Regions from separate parts of the Homo sapiens genome. Here region 2 is linked to region 1. Evidence: promoter capture Hi-C in 16 types of primary human blood cells and fetal thymus (Javierre and others, 2016). All regions are on one chromosome and are shown on one strand. Each heading gives the region's core, a stretch centred on a gene start or on the middle of the fragment in contact. The rest is flanking DNA. Distances are from core to core; before and after follow the strand shown. Region 1 holds the start of BCAP29 (B cell receptor associated protein 29). Region 2 overlaps SLC26A4 (solute carrier family 26 member 4).

Region 1 (7,093 bases), core at 3,757-6,256:
TGGAAGACATTTTCTCACAAAACAGTGTCAAAGATGGCGGTTAGGGTCCCAAGTTCGCCTCTCTAAATCCTATTTAACCAACAACACAACAACTCTGAGGGAATTCTGAGGGAAAACATACTCTGTGCAAGAAGGGGCATTTCAAGAAGTAGCTAGATAATCTTAGACAAGTCACTCAATTTCTCTGAGCTCAGTAACAACTGGAAAAACATGGTGATTACTAAGACTCATGGAACTTCTGGTTTGACAAGAACCTAAAGGTCTACTTTTAATTTTTAAAATACTGTTACCATGAAAATTTAAAACATGCTGAAAAACGAGTACAGACATTATGTAAACAAATGGGCATGGTCATTTCCCAATAAAACTTTATTTACAAAAATAGGTATTTGGCCCACAGGCTATATAGGTTGCTGACCCTGCTATGTAACAATGCTGTTATCACAACTAAAGTTAACAAAAATTCCCTAATATTATACAATCACTCCATATTCAAATTTTTGCGGTAGTCCCCAAATCTATGTTGCAGTTTTGTTTGTTTGTTTGTTTTTTTAAGGAAGGATCTTGCTCTGTTGCTCAGGCTGGAGTGCAATAGTTCACTGCAAACTTGAACTTCTGGGCTCAGGCAATCCTCCAGTCTCTCAGCCTCCCGAGTAGCTGGGACTATGGGTGCACATCACCACACCTGGCTAATTTTTACATTTTTGTAAAGATAAGGTTTTGCTATGTTGCCCAGGCTAGTCTCAAACTCCTGGACTCAGGCAATCCTCCCGCCTTGGCCTCCCAAAGTGCTAGGATTACAGGCCTGAGCCACCTCGCCCGGCCATGTTTATTTTTTAATCCAGTCCAAATGCACACCCTGCATCTAAGACTCCTTTGGAGAGCCTAATGATTCTATTCTTTTATTTGCCTTTCTAACAGCTAAGCTCCTGGGTGCCTAGGACATCACAGTAACAAAGGAGAGACAACACCATGAAAAATAAAGTCTGGTAACTCTGAACAGCAAGGTATGCATTAATATACAGCATTTAAATCTTAAAATAACCTAGAAGGGGTTAAGAATCATTGTGCCCTGTTGAAACTTAAGCTTGAACATACAGAATGGTAGTATCTATCAACTGTGTATCAATAGATCAGTATCCACTCTATGTACTATCAATATACTATATAAAGTCAACTGTACACCAATTGTAACATCAACTCTATTAATTAAAAAGAAATTCATTTAAAAAAAGTTATATTTATTCAAAGAAGGGATCTAGTACTTACCTAGAAATAGAACAATCAATAGGATGATAATGGTAAGGAAAGCCTTGTTCCAAAAAGTTGCAATTTTACCCCAGACATTAAATGAAAAAATCTTCTGCCATCTGTAAAGCAATACAATTATATTAGGTATAAAAAAACTAAAATAAAGTTTTGAAATACTTTTTAAATACTGAAGTAACATTTTAGTAATTGTGTAGCAAGTGAAAATTACAGAAATTTAATTTTAAAATTTATTAATTCTGACATGACAGAATATCTCATGAATTAAAAAACAACTCTTTCAAATTTAATAATAACCTGATATTTGATTATCCTCTGTCTGGTGGCTTAAATATTCTAAAAGTAAACCATACATGAGCAAAACCTTAAAAAGGAATTCTTGCAGTAGTAAAATATTATATTGTTGATAGAAGCTACTACTCTGTATCTTTTTCATGGTCAGAGAAATGACTTAGAAATAAAGATATATTGTTCTAACAATTGGCAACATTTCAGGAGTGGGGTCTAACTCTGCATACTGATTTTTATATAGTACAATTTTAACGTATACTCCAACTAAAAGTTTCTCTACTTTAACCATGAGGGAATTATAAAAACTACCCAGGTATTATACACATAAATTGAAAAAATCTTAAATATGTAGCTTGATAATTTTCACACACACACTATATATATATATATAAAACCATGTAATTACTACAGATAAAGATGTGAACATAGAGGAAATGAGATGGGGAAATAGTCTAGGTGGATTGAACAGTATAAACAAAGACAGTGGTAAGAAAGCATGGGTTATAAATGGCAAAGTGGCAAAATAATCCATCACGCAATAGGAAAGGTAACAAACTTTGTACAAGGGCAATTTAAATGAGTAACACTTTAGTTGAAAGGAGGCAGAAAAATGTAGTAAGCACTTAAATAGCTTCAAGCACTTACAACTTGAAAAAAACAGTTTCACTTTAAGATTAGGACACATTTAAGATTTAAGATTAGGACAACTTCAAGTAACTACTTGAAATTGGTGGGTTGAGGGAGATTCATACAGATGAATCGGTTCATTTTGTCTCTGCTTCCAAGTCCAAGCATTTTATACAGCCAATATTTAAATTATGCAATATAAAATTTTATATTTTTAAGAGAACATAAGTGGTAATACCTTGATCTAGGTCCAAATGTAAATTTACTTATTTCTTCAAGGTTTGGTGTGGTGTAAAAGGGAATGTAAGAGATCTCTCATAGGGAACAACTAGCAGTTGAGCACCTTATCATAGCTAATACCTATTGTGTTCTCACTATATTATGGTTCTAAGTACTTTTACATGTTTTATCTCATTTAATTACAACAACTACCGTAAGGGGTAGACACTAGTACTACCTCCATTTTACAGATGGGGAAACAGATCAGAGAGGATCAAGAGCATGCCCAAGGTTAGTAACATGCAGTTATAGGTGACCTGATTTCTGAGCATGTGCCTTTAACCACTGGGTTATGTAAGAAAATAATAGAGACTAAATGATGAAATATTTTCTTTAAAGATTATGGTGATACAAATATAAAAGATAAAAAGATGTGGATACACACATAGGACATATTGTAAATGATCTGCGTGCATACATACCGTATTTTCTTTATATCTGTACATGAGAACACATTTATATATCATATGCAAATATACACACATCTATCTAATAGCTACTTGATCAGGATGGGTAAAATTTTTATTTGGCAGGAAGAAAAATATTGATCCATAAGTTACAGATCACTCTGATGGAGTAAAGATCAACTGACAATTTTTCCTTCTTTGCAAACCCTTAAGCCTTATCTATAAATTAGATGTTTATATACAAAATCTTTCTTTCTCTTGAGTATATAGGATTCTATCATTGCAAATATTACCAAAAAGCAAAACAGGGTGTTACTGAGTTTGAAACAAAACCTACAGGATGAGAGGCAGCATGATGGAGTAGAAAGAACACTGGACTAAGAGCCAGATTTTTTTCTAGAATCTGTCACTTACCAGCTAGGTAACCGTAGGCTACTTGCCCTCCTGGGTCTCAGTACGTGATATATAGAACATGGGTGGAATGGATCAAATAAGATCAAAGACCCTACAGTATGATTCAATTTTTTTTCTTTAGTAAGAAACAACTTACTGAGCTTAGCTTAGCTGATAGAGAAGGACAGAAGAGAGCAGAAATCCAGGCAGGTAAGGAGCAAGTTAGGAGTTGTGAAAGACTATCTGGACCCTGAGCTAAGGTGAAACTTTAAGAAGTTTCTCCCAGTCCTGGGATTTTAATACACTTTAGTGGGTTATCTCTAGGATCTCACTTATGAAATACTTTCTTTTATGCCAGGAGTATGAACAAATATCTTGCAATATTTTTATTACATGTGTATTTCCCCATTCATACTATCAAATTTCTGGATCTAAAATTAAACGACTAAAAAGTAGATTACTGCAAGGGTAAAATGAACCACTGCTTGGCTTGAAACACTGTACTTGGTTCTTCAAGACCTTAGAAGTTCCGTCACTAACGAACTAATGCTAATACATGGTTGTGATACTTTTCACATTCAGCACTTTTAATATACATTCATTAATTTTATGTGAAATCAAAAGTAGTAAAATTGTCATTAATGAAACTAACGGTTACAAAGGCGAAAACTAAGAATAATTTATTGGCTTTGGTTTCTAAATTGCTGTTCCAGTGCCTCAGTGAAACACTTTTACACCCATGCTGTACTGTAAACATGATTTATCCACTTATATTTATTTAGTTCATGGCTCCAATTCAGGGCAATAAAACAAAGGTAAAACCTGAGACAAGGCAGGGCAGGTGTTAAAAGTATAATCGTTGCTTTATTATATCTGTAATCAACAGAATCAAAAGTATAGGCGCCTTTTCTTTTAGAAGGGAAGAAAAAGTTATTTCACTTGTACACGTAACAGAGTTTTATATAAAATGTTATTTTAATATTGTCATTATATACTACCTAATTCGTTAGGTGAGTTTATTTTCAAAGACTTTCGAAACTTTTTAATGTTCAGAAAACTTTTTCCATTTTACATTAAGAGCGATCCAATATTTATTAGTTAACGATTTGAAGGTTTCCTACCTCTGAGGAGGAATAAAAGGTAGGCAGAAGATTAAAATGAGTCCTATTTCGGCATAAAGAAAGGTTGCCACTGCAGCCCATTGGAGTGTCATTTTTTTCTTCACACCTAAATGGAAAAACACTTATTTTCTCTTGCTTCCTTTCAAACAAAACCGGGTTCAAGGCCCCGAGGCGCAGCGTTTTTGTCCAGGGGATGGACAGTGTTCCACCTTCCCCCACCTGGGAAGGCAAGCACGGACCCCGGTCAGGAAGGGGAAAAGGGTGGCCCGGGAAGCGGGTGTCGCCACCTCCCTGGGAGTCGTGGGAACTGGCGAGGCGGCTCGCTGGCCACTGCCTTTTCCGCCAGCTTCGCGGCGACAGAAGCCCAACGCCTCCCTCCACCAACGCCCGGCTTCCCGGCCCTCCCGCTCCCAGAAGGCGCCGCGGGCCCTCGACCACCGCGCCGCGGACCGGGCCGGGCCGGGTCGGGCCAGGCCAGCTCCGCGGGGTTCTCCAGACCAGGCAGCGGCGCTCTCCCTCCGCGGCCTACGCCCCACGGGTCCCCGGGTCGCAGAAGCCCTTACCCGCCGGCAGCCCGCCTGGCTCCCTGCGCTGCTCCGCGGCCGCCGACGCGCGGGACGTCAGACGCCGCGGCTGGGCGGGGGAGGGGAGCCAGGGCCCCACCCCGCCTCACGCCCCGCAGGCTCCCGCCCGCGGGTCCGTCCCGGCTGAGGTCACAGGCGGCGCGACCACGTTTATTGGCAACAGTTGTTTTCTAATTGGCGGCAGGTCAGAGAATGAGTTAGACTTTTGACCTGATGCTTGGAGGTCGGAGCGCAACTTCTTCAGGAGGACAGACTTTCCACTGCTAAGTGCGGCCCCGGCGGGAGGGTGCCGGGGTCCAGGTCTAAGGAGCGGCGCCGGGCGGCGGGGCTGGATTGGGTGGTGCAAATTCAGCGAACGCGCTTAAGACGCACTCCTTTCCGGTCACCTACTCTCTCTTCATGGTGGGAACTGTTTGTGTCCAGAATTAAGCTATATTTAATAAAGGGCCAGGATGAGGTGGTCGTGCAGCATTTTGTTCTGGAGAACCTAGGATCAACTGTATGTCACAACATATTCCGTAGGCGTTCCCGTTCCCGTCCATGGGCTGGGAAGAGACAGTAAACTTTACCGTGATGTTTGGGGACTGGTACGAAAGGTGGGTATGGGGATATTCTTTCACTATTTTCCAGCTTTTCAAACTGTGCGTGTACATTTAAGTTGTTGAGTTTTTTCAATATTGACAACGTATCAGGAATTTAATAAAAGTACTATCCTGGTAACAATTATTTGGGGAATAGTAAATAAATGTTGAAAATTGATAATTATAGAATATAAAACATTCAAAAACACATTTAAGTTGGTGCTTTTTCTTAATTTATCACTAATATTCTGGATCACATGTAACAGAAAAAATAGAAAAATAGACTTTGAACATAAATTAACCATAAGGAAGATTTTTTTTTTTTTTTTGAGATGGAGTCTCCCAATGTCGCCCAGGCTGGATTGTGGTGGTGCGATCTCGGCTCACTGTAGCCTCTGCCTCCCAGGTTCAAGTGATTCTCTGGCCCCAGTCTCCAGAGTGGCTGGGATTACAGGCGCCTGCCACCATGCCTAGCTAATTGTTGTATTTTTAGCAGAGACAGGGTTTCACCATGTTGGCCAGGCTGGTCTCGAACTCCTGGACTCAAGTGATCTGCCTGCCTTGGCCTCCCAAACTGTTGGGATTACAGGTGTGAGCCACCGCGCCTAGCCAGGAAGTTACTTTTTTTTTTTTTTTTTTGAGACAGAGTCTTGCTCTGTTGCCCAGGCAGGAGTGCAGTGGCGCAATCTCAGCTCACTGCAAGCTCCACCTCCCAGGTTCACACCATTCTCCTGCCTCAGCCTCCTGAGTAGCTGGGACTATAGGCGCCCGCCACCACGCCCAGCTAATTTTTGTATTTTTAGTAGAGACGGGGTTTCACCGTGTTATCCAGGATGGTCTTGATCTCCTGACCTCGTGATCTGCCCGTCTTGGCCTCCCAAAGTGCTGGGATCACAGGCGTGAGCCACCGCGCCCGGCCAGGAAGTTACTTTTAATCAAAAGTGTTAGAACTTCTTGCCCATCCACGCTGGTTCCTTCCAAACACCGAGCACATTACTCTAGTGATGATGCTGTGCTCACAACACTAGGGTAATTCAATTCAGAGTTCTGACCATACCTCCCTATTTTGTACAGTATTCATAGAAAATGAAACAGCGAGTTATCTTTAAAAAAAAAAATGCATTAACTGAAAAGTGAAAACAGAATGTACTGAGAAAAAAGATGGCACCACAGTGCTTATGTTAAAATGGATTCATTCAATATTCCCAAACGTGAATTAAACAGTTTTACATAATTGTTTCCTTATAACAGTTTTCATGTTGGCAAAACAAAATAATACTTTAATTATGAACGGTTTTATTTCAGTCTGAGATACTTAATTCTTGCAGTGCATGCCCACCGATAACAAAATCTATTAATAACACTCCAAAACCATGGGACTTTAAAGTTACAATCAACGGCTGAGAGGCACAAAAGTAATTAGGTTTTAAAGTTAAAAACAAAACCTGGTTACTATTCTCTAGGAAATATTTCAAATATATAATCATCTCCAGGTTGGACACCAAATTTCCTATACTTAAGATATGGTAGATTGCAATTAA
Region 2 (3,589 bases), core at 649-3,148, 120 kb before region 1:
ATATAGGCCCTGCTGATTGGAGAAGAGATATGGGTGTGGCTATGCTTATCGGGTTCAAAATGTTACTATTGACCTAAAAGTCAAGGCCTCTATTTTGAATGTCAGTGTCCTACTGTGATTTTATGCTACAGTTTTACAAGATGTTACTCATTGGGAGAAACTGGGTAAGGGGTATATAGGATCTAAATATTATTCCTTACAACTACATGTGAATTTACAATTATGTCAAAATAAACATTTAATTTTAAAAAGTCAAGACACAAGACCCATAGTCAATAATAAAAGAGAATTTGAGAATTATGGAGGAAAACAAATCAAGACCTCTGTTCAAGTATAAAGTTTGGAGTCTTCTTTAGCTATCATAACTGTCATTATAATATTTGAAAGTAAATATTCGTTGTGTGGGAAATATTCTGGCATTAAATATGTTAAGACTGTCCCCAAAAGTAATTCATTGAACTCTCTGGCCAATATAGTCTACAATGGATCTCAGCCAATGCTTAGAGTGAAATGTACAACAAAGAACAAGAGTGATTTCAAATGAGCTAATAACAAAATCTGCTAAGAGAACTAGAACAGAACCTGTCAGCATATTCTCATACTCTTTTGCCAAGCACAATCACTTCTCTACCCTACCTACCTAGTACCCACATCCTGGAATCATTTCCTCCCCTTATAGAGGTAGCAAAGAAGCCTTAGCTAAGTGGAACCTCAGTTAGGAGTCAGCTTTATATTATTACATCTGATTGTTGGTGTCTTGACCTGCTTACTTTTCTGCCTGACCCTTTTGATACCTACCTGAAGCTTCACTGAACTTGATGCTTCAGGTGATGTCCTATTCATCTTCTTTGGAGCACTTACTACAATTGTTATTTATAAGATGACTTAATGTTTGCCTTCTCCTCCAGACTGCTAAGTCCCACGTAGGTAGAAACTGTGTCTACTTCATCACTAGTCTCTTGTGCCTGGCAGAGTGCTCAGTACACATTAGGCATTTCACATCTATTTGTTGACAGAATTAATGAACTTCAGCTTGCATAACTGGTTTCTGATATCATTAATGTTTCTATCCTGCATACTCCTCAACTCTTGCTTTGACCTTCCAGATGTCTGACCTGCTTCCTACTCTAACCTCTTAATAATGCCTGGCTTTTCCAGTCCTAACATACACCTGGTATTCCTTATCCTGTTGCTGTTAACATAACAAATAGAAATGTAATACTTAATAAACTTTTGCCCATTTTTTTCTTTTCATATACCACTTGTTATACATTCTCAGAAAGATAAAACATAATAAATGTGAATTAATTTGCTGGGGAGTATCTTTGAACCAGATATTCTTTTTTTTTTTTTTTTTTGAGATGAAGTCTCACTCTGTCACCCAGGCTGGAGTACAGTGGCACAATCTCAGCTGCAACCTCCACCTCCCGGGTTCAAGCGATTCTCCTGCCACAGCCTCCTAGGAGCTGGGACTACAGGTGTGCGCCACCATGCCCAGCTAATTTTTGTATTTTTGGTAGAGACGGGGTTTCACCATATTGGCCAGGCTGGTCTTGAACTCCTGACCTCATGATCCACCTGCCTCAGCCTCCCGAAGTGCTGGGATTACAGGCGTGAGCCACCATGCCCAGCCTGAACCAGACACTCTTCTAAACACCTTATATCTATTAGCTTATTTAATCCTTGTAACAACCTGTGAAGGTAGATACCATCATTACCTCCATATTACAGATGAAGAAACTGAGATATAGACAGATTAAGCAACTTGCCCAGGGTCGTACTGCTAGTAAGTGGTGAAGCCAGTATCTCCCCCAGGTAGTCTGGCTCCAGAGCCTATGCTTTAAAATATTACACTTTTTTACAAAAGCATTCACCTAGAAAAATTACAAAGCCCATGTATTTGCCCTGTTGCAATACTGGACAACCCACATCATTTTACTATTGCCAAAGCTCCAAATGTATAATTCAGAAAACCAGAACCTTACCACCCGCAGTGATCTCACTCCAACAACGTCCAGGAAAGATATAGCTCCACAGTCAAGCACAAGGCTATGGATTGGCACTTTGGGAACGTTCACTTTGACTGGAAGCTCAGAGTTCCAATCCACTTGAATCTCTATTTCCTTGGTTGGGATATCAAGTTCCTCCAGATCTTCAATATCCTCATCAGGCTCAAAAGCATTATTTGTTGAAACAGCATCACTTATGATGCCATTCTAAACGAAGAAAACACTGTCAACTTAATTGTCAAAGATTTGAAATCTTTCAACCATTCATATCAAATTATCCAAAAGACCTACACACTGTTCCTTGGTAAGCAAGACATCAAGGAGATGAATTTTTAAGGATGGGTTTCACCTCAGCCCAAACTTTGATGTTGTCTAGGAAGAAAACTGGGAGAACAGAGGAGCCAGGAAACTTTTGTTTTCTGGATGATTGTGGAACTTTGCCAAGAAATACACTGGCCAGAAGAATCTGAGTAAAAGTTAACAGCTCCAAAAGTTTATGGACTTAGACTGCCTTCTATGGTGGGTAGTTTTCTGGCATTGAATTTGCACTTATTTTGTTCCTTTCAGTAAAAATAAAGTATAGAAAATAATGCAGACACTGTTCATGGTGGGGAAAAAAATCACATCCTGTGTTTCCAGGCAGCGCTGCTGATTTTATTTCATTCCCTTCCACTCCCGCTTGCCTATAAGAATAGCTCAGTTGTTCTTTGATACGTACATGTCATTTGTTCATTCACATCTGGATACTAAAGAGGATAGATTTAATTTTAGACCCTCTAACTGCTCTCATCAGGGAAAGGAAATAATTTAAGGGGGAAAAGAAAGATGTCATCTCACCTTTGTTGCTCTTAATTGTCCACTTTTTATTAGTTTCTGTATTTTCCTCAGCGCTTTCAGCCTCTTATTATATACTCTAATGGCATCAAATCCAACCTTTGGAAATAAATGTCAAGTTACTTAAAATGCCTGGCACCTAAAGCTTATTAATGGCAACTGTTATCTGGAAAGGCTATTTCTCAAAGGGTATAATTCCTTGAGCTATCCTGCCAAAAAAGAAATTGTAAGGTCTGATGGAGTAGATCTCTGTCTACTCCCAGGCTACCCTACTCCTACCCAGAAGCTCTGAGAAGACAGTAGCATATCAAAGGCTCCAAGACAGTAAAAGACAAAACAGAAACACACACACACCCCAAAATACCCTCTTTAGTTTAAGTCTGGGTTTTCCAAATTCCCTTGGTATCACAGAGCCCTTTTGTTATTGCAAAATCTGTGAACATTCCTCTGAATCAGTTTGCCCTGGAACTCACTTAGAAAAACACTGATTTAGAGGCAAACTCCAAGTTCAAAGCATAGCATGGCATTTGGTGCCAGGATTTTCTACTTATTTATTCCACTAGTATATTTTACTTTTTGCTGCAACTGGGCAACCCTACCTCCAATACATGTTTCCACTGTCTCTCAGCTCACATAGTTCTCAAACACTTGACATGATTTCTTTCCTTCAGCCAACTGCCGCACAAAGCCTGTTAGTCCAACTAACCTGGATCTCTTCCTTCTATGAACTCTCAACTGTCTATACT

The links. The method cuts DNA at HindIII sites, captures the fragments that hold promoters and counts their contacts. A CHiCAGO score of 5 or more calls a contact.
Region 2: a fragment that was not itself captured here is called in contact with the fragment with the promoter of BCAP29 in region 1 in 1 of 17 cell types (naive B cells); the score reaches 5.6 in naive B cells.

Annotation. Positions count from the first base shown.
Region 1 is chr7:107,578,159-107,585,251 of GRCh38, reverse strand. BCAP29 (B cell receptor associated protein 29) reads right to left here and starts at 5,006. Exons shown (of 8, transcript NM_018844.4): 1 at 4,951-5,006; 2 at 4,388-4,493; 3 at 1,270-1,370. The coding sequence starts at 4,479. It overlaps DUS4L-BCAP29 (DUS4L-BCAP29 readthrough), which reads right to left. Exons shown (of 13, transcript NR_163941.2): 7 at 4,388-4,493; 8 at 1,270-1,370. It overlaps DUS4L (dihydrouridine synthase 4 like), which reads right to left. Exons shown (of 8, transcript NM_181581.3): 8 at 6,729-7,093. RefSeq lists an enhancer at 4,499-4,568 and a silencer at 4,659-5,148. The HindIII fragment of the contact is 6,036 bases long and covers 1,090-7,093 here.
Region 2 is chr7:107,700,454-107,704,042 of GRCh38, reverse strand. SLC26A4 (solute carrier family 26 member 4) reads right to left here. Exons shown (of 21, transcript NM_000441.2): 16 at 2,847-2,942; 17 at 1,986-2,216. Among named protein-coding and RNA genes, the nearest start is that of SLC26A4-AS1, 40 kb to the right of the region's middle. The HindIII fragment of the contact is 2,184 bases long and covers 807-2,990 here.